4 separate regions of the Homo sapiens genome follow, and all the other regions are linked to region 2. Evidence: promoter capture Hi-C in 16 types of primary human blood cells and fetal thymus (Javierre and others, 2016). All regions are on one chromosome and are shown on one strand. The core of a region is centred on a gene start or on the middle of the fragment in contact, and the rest is flanking DNA. Distances in the headings are between cores, read along the strand shown.

Region 1 (2,777 bases), core at 182-2,681, 3.9 Mb after region 2:
CTTTCTTTAACTCTTACAGTTTCCATCTCCAGGCTCAAGAAAGTTTACTTTCTCATTTCTTCTTCCCTCAAATGCACTAGAATAGATCCTTACTTAGGGCCTTTGAATTAGTGTTATCCTTTTCCTGGAATGCTCTATGCTCTGATTTTTGCGTCTGTTATTCAAATCGCTGCTAAAATATCTCCTCCTTAAAAGGGCATCCCCTTTACTAGCCACTCAGTCACCATCACCATCACGTCACTTATTGTAACTTCTTTGCATACAGCTTAAAACCAACAGATTTTTTTTCTTTTCACCCTCAGATAAGTTCCCTAGAATCTACACTACTTGTCTTCATCATTGTTCAATCAACAGCCTAGAGTAGTGTTTGTTGAATGAAGAAATGAACAAACGAATGCACCCTTTCTTCCGTGACCCTCTCCTCTGAACAGGGCAAAACTTAACTCATAACGAGGATACACTCAAAAATGTCTTTCTTATTGCCAGGTGTTTCCACTCTTGAGGAACAGATGCCCTTTAGGAGACAGGGCAATTTGACTGGACTGGCCCTTCCGATTTTAGGTGAAAATAATCACCATAACAGCTTTTCATCTCTGGCTAGGCTTCCCAGTGACCAAAGCTTTACTTTCCGATTTCCATACCACGTAAAGACATCAGGGTGAGCACTAGGGCCCTGAGAACCCTGGAAGCTACTTCTTGGCTGGGATAGGGCTGGTTGCCCGGTGCGCTGTGAGTGGTCCTCCCCGGAGATGCTGGGAGAAGGGGCGGAGCCATCAGAAAGGATGAGCCTTCCTTGGGCCTTCGGATCTGGTGGGGCTGCCACTTTGGGAAGGGCCCCGGGCTTCGGAAGAAAGCAAAACTAGCCTTGTGGCGAAGAAGGAGCCCAGCTGGCCCCAGGCTGTTAAGACTAAGGGGTCGAGGGAAAAGAGGCAGAGCCTGAAACCAAATCTGCGGAGCAAGCCAAGGCCTGGGGACTTGCCAGAGGGAAGGGTTAAGCCGTTTCCAAGGCAACGGACCAGGAAGCGCGCAAGACGTCCGCCGCAGGTTCGTAGGTCGCCCTCGAATTTAAAGCTCCCAAGGCTGAGTGGGTCCCGGCCAATGGAGAGGCCCCCTTTAAGTCATGTGACCAGCGGGGCTGCCCCGCGGGCTGCTCCGCGGGCTGCACTGGAGCACGTGGGAAGGCTTTTTTTCCTGTTCCTTCTTTCCCTTTTTAAACGCCCACCCACTTTTGCGCGGGCTCGGCCGCGGAATTTTTCTCGCGAGAGGCGCGCTGCCCTCTCGCGAGAGAGAGTGGGAGGCGTGGAGAGTAGGCGGTGTTGCGGGCCGGAGCTGCGGCGGCGGCGGCGGCGGCGGAAGCCGAGGGGTGGGCAGGGCGGGGGCGGGCCGCGGGGCTGGGAGGGGGAGGGCTGGGGGTCAGCGCGGGAGGGGGCCAGCTTGCTTGCCCGGCTCGCTCACGGGTCGTTGAGGCCGGTGACATGTCTGTGAGCTGCGGAGGCTGCGGCCCCCAGGTGAGCCGGGCGCCGACGTGCTCGCCGCGGAGGCTGCGTTTAGATGGGGTGGCGGCGGGTGTGCGGCCGGCATGGATGGAGCGGCCCGGCTCCGGCGCTCCAGCCCCTCCGCCTGCCGCTGGTCCCCCTTCTGGCTTCGGGGCCGCCCGAGAGCTGCGCCTTCGCATGGCGGAGGGAGGAGGGCGGGAGGAGCGCGGCCGAAGGAGGAAACTCACCGCACCGGGCCCAGAGTAGAGGGAGGTGCTGGGTCTCGAGACGCGTCTTCCTGGGGTCCCAAGTGTGGCGGTGGAGCTGCCGCCCCTTTTAATGACAGGCTGTTTCCATCCCCGGGGTGGTCTTCAGAGACGGCCCCCCGGGTGCGTGGTGCGCGTGCTTAGTGTGTGTTCGTGGTGTGCGCACAGGAACATTTGCAGCGGTTGGGAGGACGTTGCACTTTGTTCCCGAACAGCATCCTTCACTGTCAGACCCCCGGAGCCTTGGAAGCAGGCGCTGCTCAGATCTTGTAAACGGAAGGCGTCAAGGGGCTCCTCAGAGTATTGATATTTGGATTTGCTGTCAAATACTCTCCTAGGCTGTTAATGGCTTAAGGCTGGCCATAAAGTACCCCGAATGGATTGAGTATACTGCTGTTAATCCAGGCATCTAAGCTGCTTTATAAAAAATATGTAGATGTAACCGAAGTATTAAAAAGTGACAATGACAGTAAAAGCTAACATTTTTTCTCTTCCCCATATTACCAGCTTTCATTTTTTTTCTCTGCTTTGTCTGTCTTCTAAAACCATATAAAGTTGGATGTGGTTTAGCTTTAGATGTTAAGGAGTTTCATGGTGAGAAAGACTGCTGAGATACATACCTAATAGCTTTAGTACAAACTGGAGTTAATTCCTGTTCTCTTTTCAGCTTTTCAATCGCTTGCAAAATGCTCGTTTTGCTTAGCTGCTTCCCACTGTTTTAGAAATGTCATGTCGATTGTTATTTTGTTATGTCTGAAAATACTCAAAATATGGAGTACTAAGAAAAAATGGGGTATCAGTAATGCACAGATATATTTTTTTTAATGTCATCATTTTAGGATGGCAGCCCAGTGCCTGGCATGATTGGTGTCAGTTAAAATAGTGCAATTGAATGATTTTTTTTTTTTTTGAAAAACACATTTACTTTTTCAAACGGTACCCTGATTATTCATTTTTTCTTGTCGTTGTTCCTCCTGACAAAACTGACCCAGGGGTGGACAGTGAATGTCACTATTGTAGCTGTAACAGTAATTTA
Region 2 (2,700 bases), core at 83-2,582:
CCTGTATCTGTCAATCAATATTTGGCTTCATCTACATATATGGTAAGACCATTATTTTAAAAAGTGAGGATGGCTGTCATGAGAATGTTGGAGTCTTACTTGCCTACTCAGAACCAGAACTCTCTCCACTGGGAAATGTCACCATAGAAGATCAGTTGGCTGCAAAATTATTGTAAAGATGAATTTGATCTCCATTATCCCTACTACAGTTCCTTCCTGGTTCCTCTCTTAAGTATCTCTCCTTAAGAATCTGATGCATATTCTAAAGATCAACTAGATTGCCCCATTATTTTAATGCCTACCTGCTTCCTCCTTTGTCTATTCATGCTAATGTTTTAAAAGGGCATTTCAGTCATTGTGAGACAGACGCATATTTTCCAAACACAGAGGTTTAGATCTGTAATAAAGTTTAGAGGACAATTTTCTTCCGTCATCACTACACAGGATGTTAGATCCTAGAGAGTTGACGCCTACCTGCCTTACTCATCTTGGATTCCCCAGAGTTTAGCTTAGCGCCGGGCAAATAGAAAGGGTTCAAAGTTGGTTGTTAAATTGAATAAATGTGGTCAGTGATTAGCAACTCAGCGCACTGGTTTAATTAGACCATATAACAAATTACTGAAATCTCCTGTTCATAGATGTGTCTTCCCAACTAGACGCCACGTTCCCCAAACGTAGAAACCTCATTTTTTCTCACCCACCCCAGCGGGAGTCTTGGCATAGATAATTCGTACTTGATAGCTCTCTTACTTAACCGAAATTCAATAGTTATAAATCAGTATCGGAAAGTAAAGCGTGAAGGAGAAACTATGAGAAATGTAAAGGATATAACAGGATTGGTTTGCTGGAAAGACGGAAGAAAACTAATGATAAAGCAGTGTTACAATTCCTGCTTCTGGAGCACCAATTAAGCTTTTCCGCGCTCAGGTTGCCTTAGAAACTTTAGAGCGCGTCCGCCCCAGCCCCGCCCCCGGCCTCGCCCCGAGCTTCGCCCCAAGTCCATCTCGCTCTTCATCCGACTACCCCATACCCTTACTTCCGCCCCAACCTGCCAACTGGAACCTAGGGTCCTACGCTCTATGCCCACGCTTATTCTGCCTGACTAAAAATATGGTAGCAAATTACCAAAGTTAGAAAGATATCTTATAAATATAATCCATACTTTTTTCTTAGATATATAAACGCAAAAGCACAAGATATTTGTAATTTAAAAGCGCCATCTAGCATGAGCTCTTAGGGCCAATTTTCAGGCAGTGCGTTGGATAGCAACAACTTCGGAGGTCCCCAGATTGCAGAGGGAGACGTGGACGTGAGTGGAGCGGGGCGGTCCCCAGCACACTAGAGGAAGTCGTGCTACCCCCGCGGAGTTGTCGTGTGTTCTGGATTCATTCCGGCACCACCATGTAAGTGTTTGCTTACCGACTGCCATAATTCCTGGTCCAGCTGCCCGACCCTGACTCTCTCCCGCTCTTTTCCTCAGGTCGAAGGTTTCCTTTAAGATCACGCTGACGTCGGACCCACGGCTGCCGTACAAAGTGTGAGTAGCTCGGCCGAGATGGGCCTTTTGGGGCCGGACAAGACGGGGCTGGGTTGGGGATGATCCGAGCTTTTCCAACAACTACCCCACGCAGTCTTCATCTCTTCACTTCATCTACTTTCCTGGCTCGCGCCCTTCCAGGAGCCTTTCCCACCGGAGCCTGCGAGGAGAGGTCCGTACTTGCTCGCTAAGTGTCAGCTTGGCAGCTTGGCCCCGTCACGAGGGTGTGGGTGTGTTTCTGATTAGTGACCTCCCCTCGGAATTCATTTGGTGGGCAGGTGGCGCGGGAGGACAGGTGGACCAGGTTCTGGTAATTTGTTGGGATTCTTAAACAGTCCCCATCTGCTGGATATTAGAAAAGCGTTTCACCGCTTTGGCCAGCTGGTTGAGGAAGTTAAGGAAGACATTCCATCTTGATAGTCAAGACTTTGAAATTACTTGAACATTTGTTATTCCGCGGCTTCTGAGTTTCGTTGTGTATGAGTAACTCAGCAGTCGGGCATCACAAAGTAATGAGACTCAGATCACACCCTTCCTATGCTGGGATTTAATAGAGTATTTGGTAGGAATGGGAAATGCAGATAGGGGATAGTTTATCCATGTGGGGCCTTTACTTATCCTTCGCAGTTGAGTGATAGATTTTAAGTAAACACTCTTGAGGTTATTGCAGTTGGAAGTAGCATGAAATGTAGCAAAGAACAGGATTACAATAGAATTTTTTGCATAATTAATTAGTACCTTGGCCTACCTAGCTGACTGATAAATTTCAATGATTTACCAATCCATGATCCGTACAACCTCTCAGCCTTTTCCTCCCTTGATCTTTTCATCTCCAAAATATCCCTGTTACACTTTATCTCAGGTGTTCATGGTTGCAGCCTAGAACCTTAAGATTCCAATAATTGCTCCATCTCTGAGATGTCGTTTACAGGCACTCTTATGGATAAATACATTCTCTCCTACATGATTTACTATAATTTCTCATCTACAACGTTTCATTTAATCCATTAATCACAGTGATTTTTTATCTGTAGCTATCCCCACTTCTATTCCTTACCTTACTCCTTATATAGTTAAGAGTCCATTGGTCCACCTTTAAATCATTCTCATGCAAACACCCTCAACTCTGGTGGCCCTGTCTCTCCTCTCAGCATATTTTGGTT
Region 3 (2,812 bases), core at 290-2,789, 4.8 Mb before region 2:
AGAGGCTGAGAAGTTACACAGATAATGGCAACTAAGAAGCAGAGAAGCTGAGAAGAGATTGCTTTCAGGAGTCCACTGATTGAGAAAATAAAAATGCGAGTTCAGGGCCCACGAAAGAGGGAAGGCCTAACACCTCGGCTTTTAGCTGGGACACAGAAAGGGTCACCTCAGGAGTAAGAAAGAACCTGAAATAGACGAGACCTAACAAAGTCTAAAAACCAGTTTGAAATAATCTCACTTCCATATTAGATTAAGGTGCTCTGCCCTTAGCCTAGCTTCCTAATAGAAGCAAAAGTAAATCCTACAAATACTTCCATAAAGTAAAAAACACCACTCAGAGCCCAGTATTTTTTTTTTTTTCATAAACAAAGACAACATTTCATAAAGAATTTCTGGGCATACCAGGAAACAGAAGAAAAAGATAATGGAAACAAGATCCACAGATGATCCAAATACTGGAGTTAATGGGCACAAACTATTTAATTTTTTTTTTTTTTTTGAGACGGAGTCTGGCTCTGTGACCCAGGCTGGAGTGCAGTGTTATAATCTCGGCTCACTGCAAGCTCCGCCTCCCGGGTTCACACCATTCTCCTGCCTCAGCCTCCTGAGTAGCTGGGACTACAGGTGCCTGCCACCATGCCGGACTAATTTTTTGTATATTTAGTAGAGACGGGGTTTCACCGTGTTTGCCAGGATGGTCTCAATCTCCTGACCTTGTGATCCGCCCACCTCTGCCTCCCAAAGTGCTGGGATTATAGGCGTGAGCCACTGCGCCCGGCCTTGCATTTATTAATACTAGAGACGTAGAATCTATGCATAAGAAAATTCTAGAACTAAAATAAAATGATTCAACAACTGAAAACTTAAACTAAAAAAATACACTTAGAATAAAAACCATGAAATGTGTTGGAAGAAACTTAACAATGTATGTGCAATACCTGTATGCTGAAAATTACAAACAGAAATTAAAGATCAAAATAAAAGGAGATATATGCCATGTTCATAGATTGGAAAACTCAGTATTTTTAAGATGTCAGTTCTCTCCAAGCTGATGAATAAATTTAACAGAATCCCATTCAAAATCCCAGCAGATGTTTTTAGAAATTGAAATGACAATTTAAAAATTTATATTAAAATGCAAAGGACTTAGAATGGCCAAAGTAATTTTGAGGAAAAAAATACTTCCACTATCTGATTTCAAGACGTATAAAGCTACAGTAATCAATACAGTGTGGGACTGGGTTAAGAACAGACATATTTATCAATGAAATTGAATAGAATAGAAATTCAGAAGATCGGCAGATTTTTAATAAAGGTGCCAAGGTAATTCAATGAAGGATAATCTTTTTAACGAATGCTACCAGAATAACAGGATTTCTATTTTGAAAAATATGACTATCAACCATTATTGTGCCATACTAAAAATTAAGTGGATCGTAAACATAAATAAGATATATTGTGAATCTCAGAAATGAGAGGATTTTATGAACAGCTTTATGCTAATGAATATTTGGATACGTACAAATCCCTACAAATATACAACTTACAAACAAAAGCTGCTCTTTAAAAGACACTTTTAAGAAAATGAAAAAGCAGGCCACAGACTGGGAGAAAAATATTCACAACATATACTTCTGACAAAAAAGTCATACGCATAGTATGTAAATAACTCCTACAACTCAATTACAAACAACTTAGTTTTAAAATGGGCAAAAGTTTTGAACATATACCCACTTAATGGCTAAAACTAAAAACTAAAAATAGCAAGTGTTGGCATTTGATAAAAAGACCTGTCACCCTTTTAAACTATAGTAGTTCCCCCTTAGCTTCAGGGGAAATGTTCCAAGAACCTAGTGGATGCCTGAACCTCAGAGAGTACCCTACCCTAAATATATTATGCACGAATTTCTTTTTCTTTCTTCATAATTTCACAGATAGAAGACTGATTCTTACCAACCACTTGGTTCCTAGTGACCTTAGGTGATTCCTTAAGTCGAGAACTTTCACCTTCCACTTAAAGGAAGCACATTAAGGCTTCTTTTGGCATATCCAAATTGCCAGTATCACTACTATTGGGCCTTGGAGACATTATTAAGGAAAATATAGGTTATTTGAATCCAAGCTCAGTGATATGGTGATAGTTGATAACTGTGATAGTGGATGCTGAACAAAGGGAGGATACACGTTCTGGGAGGCACAGAGAGAGGCAGCATGAGATTTCATCACACTACTTAGAACTTCTAGCAATTTAAAATTTATATTTCTGAAATTTTCCATTAAATATTTTTGGACCTCGGTTGACAGTTGGTAACTGAAACTATGGAAAGCAATACCATGTATAAAGGGGGTTCCTATACAAGGATGTTTGATGAGTGCAGACACAAATAGATTCGATGGTGGGAATACACAAAAATTCTTGGCTTATGCTCACAATTCTTTTTTCAATAAAGTGTGAGGCAAAGTCATTAGTTGAGGAAGTTGATAATTTGAGGAAGGAAAAGAATGAGATATTTGGATTACAGAAGGAAAGGGCAAAGTCAGTAAAGCAAAGGAGTAGGAGAGCTGATCAATATGCAGAGCCAATTTAGGTGTGAGATCACACTAGTCCACCCAACAGTTAACAGGCTGAGCCCAAGCTCAGAAAAGATAAATGCATGCAGGAGTTCATCCATGGTTTGAGTTTTGCCAGGGAAGTGCTAAAAGTGAGGGATAAGAGTTGAGGATATTTGCAAAGGAGTCAATGCCACTATTTCTGAATATATGTGTACTCTTTGAACTGTGAAGGGCTATGTTACTGTAACTTTATAGTATA
Region 4 (2,827 bases), core at 326-2,825, 4.5 Mb before region 2:
ATGCTCAACATCATTTATCATTAGGGAAATTAAAATCATAATGAGATTTCTCTGTAAACCTGCCAGAATGACTAAAATTTAAAAAGGTTGTTGGTTGGTGAAGATGTGGAGAAATTGGAATCTTTTTGCATTGCTCATGGGAATGTAAAGTGGTGCAGCCACTGTGGAAAACGGTATGGCAGTTACTCAAAAAATTAAACTTACAATTACTATATGATTGCCGGGCGTGGTGGCTCGCTACTGTAATCCCAGCACTTTGGGAGGCCGAGGCAGCTGGCTTGCCTGAGCTCAGGAGTTCGAGACCAGCCTGGTCAACATGGTAAAACCCTGTCTCTACTAAAAATACAAAAAATTAGCTGGGCGTGGTGGTGCACAACTGTAACCCTAGCTACATGGGAGGCTGAGGTGGGAGGATCGCTTGAACCCAGGAGGTGGAGGTTGCAGTGAGCCGAGATCGCATCACTGCACTCCAGCCTGGGAGACAGACTGGGACTCCATCTCAAGAAAAAAAAAAAGAGCTAAGATACCTGAGGGCCAGAGTCATTAAACATTAAAGTGATTGCAGCTGTAGTTTACCAACCCCGAGGACTTTACTTCCTCTGTAGCAATTTCTCATATCCTATATATTCAAGAGTCTGGAGTAAAATTGCTAGATAAATACAGGGCCCTGGTTACATTTGAATTTCAGATAAAGGCTGATTTTTTTTCTCATATAAGTATGTCCCTGGCAATATTTATTACAATTTCAAATATTGCCAGGGACATACTTATATGAGAAAAAAAATCATTTGTAATAAATTTTGCCATAGACATATGAAAAAGCTTCTGAAATTCAAATTTAACTGGACTTCCTGGGTCACCACACTATTTCTCCTTCCTCAGAACCCCCAACAATATTGAAGCACATGTCTTCATGTGCTTCAATGGTAGAGACATGTCTTCACGGTAGAGACCATCAACCACTGCTCCTTATTGAAGTTGTCTGTCATGCCTGTGGTCACTCTTGCCAAATTATTGATCATTCTAGCACTTGGTTCTTCTCTTTATTCCTCTCAGTACTTATTTCCATTATCATTCATTATGATTATGATATACACATAGACCACAATTCAGTATCCCTGCTTCTGATTTCCTTTACCTTCTCATTTCAAACACTTCCTCCATTTCAATTCCAAAGGAGAGAAGCATAAAGAAGATGAAGCTTTTTTGCAATATTAAATAGGGTGGTCAGGGAAGCCTCAGTGAGGAGATAATACTTGAGCCAACATCCTGAAGGAAATGAGGGACCCAACTCTGCTGACTGGAGAAACATAGTCCAGGAAGAGGAAACAGTAATTGCAAAGGCCCTGAGGCAGAAGCCTTCCAGGCTTATTATAGAAAGTTTCTCGAGAACAGGGATTAAATCTTATACTTGGTGGTGTGGATAATACCTTACCTGCAGGAGTAATTCATGTAATATGACGATTCATAGAAGAACATGATAAATTATTGATTAATAAATGAGTAAGAGGCACCTTGGTGAAAGGTTATTAAGTATATTTGGAAATCATTTCCTGCCTGTAAGACCTTGCAATCAAATGGCAGGACTTAGGGTTCTTAATAATACATAAAATAAAAGCATAAATTAAATAAGGAATTAATATTATGTACAATGAGTAAAGTGCATTTTGAGAGGCACTATTTGAAGAGAACTTCAAAAGTTGCATATCAACTTCATATGCAGAATATTTTTCTGAGGGGTTCAGATGCTTCTACACATTTTAATTGGAGGGCTTTCAAATATTCTAGACTTAGAATGCATATTAACCTCGTGTCTTCTCCCCTACAGACCACATTTGGGTAGTTTTTCCATGCTCTTGATTCTTTTGTTTCTAATCCAATAAGAATATTGAGGAATAGAGGTAACAAAGGATAGTGAAGATCAGACATTTTCAAGCGATTCATCCAATGAAGCTTTACTGGGTACCTGCCAAGTGAGTGAAACCCTGAGATGTATATATTCTAGTGCCGAGGACAGAGTTCCACACCTAGCAGATATTTAGTAAATTTTTGTTGAATGAATTAAGTGAATGAAAGAATGAATAAATGAAAGGAACGGTCTTCTCTGAGGTATCTGGATGTGACGCCAAAAGGGTCAGAACCACATTTTCAATTCCGCTTGATAATTTCTAGAATATAATAGACGGTGCGAACAAAGAGAAAATAAATAAAGCAGTGAACTTCAGAACTAGAGGGCATCGACGCGGCAGCTGATTTTGTCTGCACACGGCCCCCGTAGCCTTTCCGTCCAAAATCATTTACGCGGCCGCGACCGGTAGTGACGTCACGAGATTTGGAGCTCGCGGGAAAACTTGTCTCTGCGTTGTGGGGAGGACGCGCGCTCGCGCGGGATTTTCAAGCGTAGGCCCCCGGGAACTCGAGCTGCCATGAGCCTCTGGGTGGACAAGTATCGGCCCTGCTCCTTGGGACGGCTGGACTATCACAAGGAGCAGGCGGCCCAGCTGCGGAACCTGGTGAGTCTGCGGGGGCCGGGAGCGTGGGAGAGGGGAGGCCCCCCGGCTCGGGGTTTCGCGCCCCCCTGAGGAGCAGTGCTTCTCCCGCCCGCATTGGAAGGTGATAAGTGCTATGGAGAAAAATAACACAGGGAAGGGGGAAGAGGTGTGGGAGGCTGGCTTGTATTTTTAAACAAGAAAAGCTCCACTGAGAAGTGGCATCTGAGCCGAGACTTGAAGGAAATTGAAAAGTCATAAATACAGAAATCCGAGCAAAGAGTGGAACAGGTAAGAGGGGACAGCAAGTGCAAAATTCCCGGGCAGGGATGTGCACG

Evidence for each region. Contacts are between HindIII fragments. The CHiCAGO score rates a contact against its expected background, and 5 or more counts as called.
Region 1: the fragment with the promoter of AKAP11 here is called in contact with the fragment with the promoter of UFM1 in region 2 in 6 of 17 cell types (total B cells, non-activated CD4 T cells, monocytes and 3 more); the score reaches 12.5 in total B cells.
Region 3: a contact is called between a fragment that was not itself captured here and the fragment with the promoter of UFM1 in region 2, in 1 of 17 cell types (total CD8 T cells). The highest score is 6.9, in total CD8 T cells.
Region 4: a contact is called between a fragment that was not itself captured here and the fragment with the promoter of UFM1 in region 2, in 4 of 17 cell types (non-activated CD4 T cells, total CD4 T cells, total CD8 T cells and 1 more). The highest score is 8.2, in non-activated CD4 T cells.

The regions. Positions count from the first base shown.
Region 1 is chr13:42,270,721-42,273,497 of GRCh38, forward strand. AKAP11 (A-kinase anchoring protein 11) reads left to right here and starts at 1,432. Exons shown (of 13, transcript NM_016248.4): 1 at 1,432-1,508. RefSeq lists an enhancer at 622-801 and a silencer at 1,342-1,691. The HindIII fragment of the contact is 2,900 bases long and covers 618-2,777 here.
Region 2 is chr13:38,348,519-38,351,218 of GRCh38, forward strand. UFM1 (ubiquitin fold modifier 1) reads left to right here and starts at 1,333. Exons shown (of 6, transcript NM_016617.4): 1 at 1,333-1,403; 2 at 1,481-1,537. The coding sequence starts at 1,402. RefSeq lists silencers at 863-972, 1,670-1,884 and an enhancer at 1,083-1,292. The HindIII fragment of the contact is 2,541 bases long and covers 911-2,700 here.
Region 3 is chr13:33,538,289-33,541,100 of GRCh38, forward strand. It overlaps a transcript of STARD13 not described here. Among named protein-coding and RNA genes, the nearest start is that of LINC02344, 200 kb to the left of the region's middle. The HindIII fragment of the contact is 6,829 bases long and covers 1-2,812 here.
Region 4 is chr13:33,815,753-33,818,579 of GRCh38, forward strand. RFC3 (replication factor C subunit 3) reads left to right here and starts at 2,397. Exons shown (of 9, transcript NM_002915.4): 1 at 2,397-2,513. The coding sequence starts at 2,427. The HindIII fragment of the contact is 752 bases long and covers 1,200-1,951 here.